Regions from separate parts of the Homo sapiens genome. Here region 2 is linked to region 1. The links are contacts of gene promoters, found by promoter capture Hi-C in blood cells and fetal thymus (Javierre and others, 2016). All regions are on one chromosome and are shown on one strand. Each heading gives the region's core, a stretch centred on a gene start or on the middle of the fragment in contact. The rest is flanking DNA. Distances are from core to core; before and after follow the strand shown. Region 1 holds the start of MTRF1 (mitochondrial translation release factor 1). Region 2 overlaps DGKH (diacylglycerol kinase eta).

Region 1 (3,211 bases), core at 334-2,833:
AAAAAAAAAAGCACATAGAGTATTTTTTAAAAAGAAAGTTAAATAAGAAACATACCAAAATGTGCCGAGCACAGTGGCTCACGCCTGTAATCCTACCACTTTGGGAGGCCGAGGCGGGCAGATCATCTGAGGTCAGGAGTTCGAGACCAGCCTGGCCAACATGGGAAAACCCCATCTCTACTAAAAATACCAAAAAAATTAGCTGAGCGTGATGGCACACACCTGTAGTCCTAGCTGCTCGGGAAGCTGAGGCAGGATAATCGCTTGAACCTGGGAGGCGAAGGTTGCAGTGAACTGAGATCGCACCACTGCAACCAGCGTGGGCGACAAAGCAACACGCTGTCTCAAAAAAAAAAAAAAAAAAAGAAACATACCAAAATGTTAATAAAATGATCTCTAGTTGTGAGATTATGAATACCTTTTGCTTGCTATTTTTTCTACTTTTCAGTGTTTTCCAAGTTTCTTGCACATGTAGCATGGAATACTTTCCTAATCATAAAAAAAGATTAGTTTAAAAAATTACAGGTTAGGTGAAATTGGCTGTGTACAATAATTTTCTGTTCTCCTCCCCTCCAACAGAGATAATCAAGAGCTAACAAAAGTACACAATGGTCTTACTGAGTAAGAAAGGGAGAATATAAAGTGTTCTAAGAAAACTCTAAGGTTCAAAGTTGAAATAAGGGTCAAGCCACGCACAGTAGCATGCACCTATTGTCCCAGCTACCCAGGAGACTGAGGCAGGAGGATCACTTGAGCCAAGGAGTTCAAGGCCAGCCTGGGCAACACAGTGAGACTCAACTCAAAAAAAGAAGGATCAACATTTATCAAAATCAAACTTTACTGTCTCCAGTGATCCTACTATGCTAGGAGGTGCATTGATATATTAGCTCATTTGTTCACTATAAGTCTGTTAACTTAGCATTATCACCTAGGAAATAAAATAGTCAGAATGGTCTTTAAAATATTCAGTTTCCAGAGTTCTACTGATAGATTTTAGGATACTGCATCACATTATTAAAAGAACTGTTGAAGAAAGCACCAATGGCCAGCTGTCACAAACGTTACACTCCACCACCCCCGTATTTCAAGCACGTTAGAGAAAGTGTATCCATTTGCTAACAGACAGAATAAAAGGATGACAAATATATGTTTGTACGAATACTTATTGCTAAAATTTCCATTTTAGGAACAGTAGTAGAATGCATAATTTTCAAGGTCATGAATCTCAACATTAAGGAAAACAAAACAAAACAAGATGTTTACTCTCCAAGGTTAACTACACCTGAGAACAGCACGACTTCTCCATTACCCATCACAGTAACAGTATTACTCTGATGCTTTGGGGAAAGTTCTGAGTGTAGGCAGGTCAGAAGCGACAGCCCGCGGGGCAGCAGCACGGGCAAACCATGCTGTGTAACTCAGTATATGGAGTGATTCCATAAAGAGGCAATACAGGAGGCGGCGGGGAAGATCAGGAAAGAACTGTGAGTACCTAAGAAAAAGAAGAATACACGTTAGCTCTCTTTACTGAGGTCGGAACCTTCCGAGACCCGCCACATTTCAGCCCGACAAACCCGAGATCACGTTCACTTCCTGGTTCACTTCTTCCGGGTTAACGCACGCTCCCGGCCCCTCCTCCGCCACTACCGCTCTCCGGAGGAGTTGTCCTCGAGCATGCCTAACAATGGACTAAAATGACAAAAATGAGCTAAATGAGAAAAATGACAAAACGAGAATGAAATTGTCATCAGACAACCGCCCCCGCGCCGTCCTTATCCAGAGCGTGAGCCCAGAGCGGGGATGGAGATGGTGGGAGGGAGGGAGGGAGGGAGGGGCCAAGGTGGGACTAAACTACAACTCCCAGAGCGCCCACCAAAGAATCCTGGGAGTTGTAGTTTACCTTGCGGCAGCCTCCAACCCCCTCCACTCACTATCCAGCCAAATGTGGAGTTTTTGGTTTTCACCGTTAACTGCAAACCTAGAAGAGAGATTCTTTACGATTCTGATTAAGAGATCAAGATTTAGAACACATTGCATGTGAAATTACAATAATTTCCTTATGTATTAGAAGCCCGTAAAGCACTGTTTTCCAATATTTAAAAAAAATAAAGACTCCTTTTACATCATCCACAAATGTAGAAGATTCTGCGTGTAATTTCTATACTTTCAGCTTCCATTGCTTCAGAAAATACCTAATGACTAAAGGATAATACAAATAAATTTATATTTTAAAAGTAGTAACAGCCCCAAAAGTTAGGAGACCGTGTATTTCCACATGTTAGTGATTTTATAATGTTCTTTGCACATGGGAATGTAGGGGCTCAACCTAGATTCATAGCTTATGAACCACTGATTAAGTGAAGAATGAAAACTCCAGTTAATAAACAATTGCAGGAAAATGCAAGCATATTGTCCTACTTTGACTAATCCAGTGGGATCCAGCCCTTGGCTATCGCAATTTACAGTCTTTCTATCTCCATGCCTCAATTTTTCTTCCTGAAAGAAAAGGCAAAAAATGTACCATATTACTGACTTTACAGAGTATTTTCTTAGATTATAATCACATACATAGATAGGAGAATTAGCTATATATGCAAAATAATATCTAACGTTTATAGCCAACTTCAAGGTACCTACTTCTATGTACTATGTACTAAATACTGTTCTAAATGGTTTTACCCTATTAATTCATTTAATTTTTACAACCTTAAAATACTTATTTTGCAGAGGAGAAAATTAAGGCACACAGAGCTAAAGTAACTACTCCAAGGTAAAAAACAGTAAGTGATAGAGCCAAGACTCAATTAAGGCAATGGCTTTAATGATCTGTGGCTCCTAAGCTCTGATATAGGGCCACCCTGCTCCAAAAAAGAAAAAACCTTCAATCATGTATTCAATAAATAGTGAACACCAGTTATGTGCTATTCACTATTCTAGTCATGAGGATTTAGCAATGAACAGAAAAGACAAAAACCTTTGCCCACATGGAGCTTATGTTCCAGTAGGGGAAAAGTTTCAAAGGGTCTACATAAAGTCATTCTCCTAAGTTATCCAAAAAGTTCTTTAATTATTTATTCTGATTTGTGCTTTCAGCTATATAACTTGAGTATTATATATAAAGCTTTATTCTCCTTAAAAAATTAGTCTTAGTCGGGCGTGGTGGTTCACGCCTGTAATCCTAGCACTTTGGGAGGCCGAGCCAGGTGGATCA
Region 2 (3,211 bases), core at 187-2,686, 920 kb after region 1:
GCTGAGCTGCTGGTGCTGGCAGCTGAGCTGCTGGTGCTGGCAGCTGAGCTGCTGGTGCTGGCAGCTGAGCTGCTGGTGCTGGCAGCTGAGCTGCTGGTGCTGGCCGGGGTGCAGGTCTCATTGGAGGTGGCTGGCTGGCCAGAGGGGCCATGCTGGAGGTGCAGCTTTGACTTCCATGTGCCATCACAAATGGGCAGTGGCTCAGCATCTCTAAATTTTATTTTTATGGACATTTTCAAACAAAACTGATATAATTACTTCCCACTGTACCCATCATTCAGTTTCAGTATTTACCAACATTTTGCCATCTGCTTCCTACTTTATTTTGCTACAGTATCTCTAAGAACATCCTGAAAATTATTCTACTACACTTTTGGTATATAGTCCTCCCTCTCTATCCATGGGGGATTGGCTCCAGGACCCCCTTGGATACCAATATTCATAGGTACTCAAGTCCCTCATAGAAAATGCCATAGTATTTGCATATAACCTACACACATCCTTCCACATACTTTAATCATCTCTAGATTATTTATAATAACAAATGTATTTGCTATGTAAATAGTTGTTATACTGTATTGTTCAGGGAATGATGACAAAAAAAAGTCTGCACATATTCAGTGTAGACAAAACAATCTGTTTTCTTTTTCAAATGTTTTCAGACCATGGTTGGTTGACTCCATGGATGTGGAACCCATGAATATGGAGGGCTAACTGTATGTGTGTGTGTGTGCTTGTGTGCACGTGTGCATGTGCGCACATATAATCTTTTTAAAAATCTAAAAATTAATAATAATTCTCTAACACTATCAATATTACTTAAGCCATATCCCATTTCCCTTAGTTTTCTCAGAGGTTTTTCTGTGAACCTTGTCTGAATTTTGACAAGGTCTTTAAAAAAAAAAAAAACCACACACACTTTATTTGTTCAAAATTCAGACAATGCTCACACACTACATTTGAGTGATATCTCTTTAAGACTTTAAAAATCTTGACCAGGCATGGTGGTCCATGCCTATAATCTCAACACTTTGGGAGGCCAAGGTGGGAGGATTACTTGAGCCCAGGAGTTCAAGACCAGCCTGGGCAACATAGTGGAATCCCATCTCTACAAAAAGTTTTAAAATTAGCTGGGTGTGGTGGTATGTGCCTGTAGTCCTAGCTACTCAGGAGGCTGAGTTGAGAGGATCCTTTGAGCATGAGAGTTCGAGGCTGCAGTGAGCTGTGATCACGCCATTGCACTCCAATCTGGATGACAGAGTGAGATCCCGTCTTAAAAAAAAAAAACACTTAAAAATTCTATAATGGTTTCCCTTTAAAAAACAATTCTTACTGAGGCATGACATATACAGTAAAGCACCTAAATCACAAGAGCACAACTCAATGATTAAAAAAATACTGCATGTACGCACAGTCACACACAGACACACATACACACTTGTAATTACTACCTAGATAAAGAATTCCCTTTTTTTGTGAATGTTATTTATTTATTCAGTGATACAATATTAAGGCAAAATGTTTAAACCCTCTTGTGCCTGTTTGTATTTATTTCATGCAATAATAATTCCCAGTAGCCTTAACTGTTTTCAGCTATTTTTAAAATGTTGAAATGCTAATGGAAAAGTTGTATTCCACTAACATAGCTAACATGTAGGTTAACCTAAAACAACATTTCTTTGACCTTAGAACTTCATCAATTTGGTATGGTAATAAGAGTTATCTTCTGAGAATCACAGCTCTAACTAGCAATCATAGATACCATTTATTAGTAAAAATGTAAAACAGTTATTAAATAAGTTGTCTTTAGCTACAATGTATGTCTCTCCTTTTATTTAGTCAGTAGTTTAAAAACTTTTTTAGCTTTAACAGTAGGAGTTAATTAGGTTTTTTACTTACGCACTCTACTCACCCCCCAAGTTTTGAAATAAATGCATTTTGTTCTGTGTACAAAAGTTTCAGAAAATGGGATAACTAGCTAGCAGGAATATTGACGCCATTGTCATAGAACCATAGAATTTAGATTTGGAATCTACTTTAGGGATAATTTAGGCCAACCCGCCTCATTTAATTGGTAAAGTGAGGTAGTTGTTAAAAATATTTCCTCAGAGCACAAAGACAGCTAGAGACAAAGATAGCTAGAGATTTTTATGTATTATGCATTGATACTTCTAAATCATCTTCAGTTTCAAATTGGAACTTTTTATTAGATGAAAAATGAATTTTTCAGATATGATGACCCTGCCTGCCAATCTATGATTCTGTCTGGGTACCATTGCCATATTTATCTTAGTGTAGTATGTGCATATTTTACTGTCATTTGCCCACACTTTAAGAAATTAAGTGGAAAGGTGATAAATGAGGGTACTAATACTAGTGATGAGAAGTATGGGTCTAACATATGTAATATAGTAGAGATGATAGTGGAAATCATCAGGTATGTGAAATGTGGACTGTTGTTAGCCTCAACTGAGTATTTGGTTCACACAGTTGACTATGTTCAATTTTGAAGGAAGAGAACAAAATTAAGGAAATAAAATGTTGGAAATGCCAAAAGTTCTGTCTAGGCCTTATGCAGTGGCTCACCCCTGTAATCTCATTGCTTTGGGAGTGCAAGTCAGGAGGATCGCTTGAGGCCATGAGTTAGAGACCAGCTGGGGCGACACAGAGAGACTACATCTCTACCAAAAAAAATTTTTTTAAATTAGCTCAGCATGGTGACATGGACCTGTGGTCCTAGCTACTCAGGAGGCTAAGCTGGGAGGATCACTTGAGCCCAGGAGTTCAGGGATGCAGTTACCTATGATCACACCATTGCACTCCAGCCTAGGCAACTGAGCAAGACCCCCATCTCTAAAAATGTTTTTTTTTTTTTAAAAAAAAAGTTCTAACATTGATTAAAGATATAATTAGGAATTTAGAATTTTTTAATCTCTATGGGAAAATCTGCATTCTACTTTCATTTATTTGACTTTTGCACATATTTTCTGGAAGTCTTATGTATAAAGTAGAAAACTGTGTGTATAGTTGGAGAATATCTTTTGTCTTCCTATAGTAAATACATCTTAAGATTGTTTTTTCTCCAATTTGCACGTTTCTGGTTGGTAGGACTTTGCAATCATACTGTTTTTAAGTATATATTTTATTTCTGTTTTAATAACTCTACATTCACTATTTAGGTATAATAAAAGGTTACTTCATTCCCCCAGAA

What was found. The method cuts DNA at HindIII sites, captures the fragments that hold promoters and counts their contacts. A CHiCAGO score of 5 or more calls a contact.
Region 2: a contact is called between a fragment that was not itself captured here and the fragment with the promoter of MTRF1 in region 1, in 1 of 17 cell types (M2 macrophages). The highest score is 5.5, in M2 macrophages.

The regions. Positions count from the first base shown.
Region 1 is chr13:41,261,993-41,265,203 of GRCh38, forward strand. MTRF1 (mitochondrial translation release factor 1) reads right to left here and starts at 1,584. Exons shown (of 10, transcript NM_004294.4): 1 at 1,493-1,584. RefSeq lists an enhancer at 1,002-1,502 and a silencer at 1,790-1,879. The HindIII fragment of the contact is 4,724 bases long and covers 1-3,119 here.
Region 2 is chr13:42,182,014-42,185,224 of GRCh38, forward strand. All of the region lies in intron 13 of DGKH (diacylglycerol kinase eta), which reads left to right. It also overlaps the pseudogene CHCHD2P11. Among named protein-coding and RNA genes, the nearest start is that of AKAP11, 89 kb to the right of the region's middle. The HindIII fragment of the contact is 6,696 bases long and covers 1-3,211 here.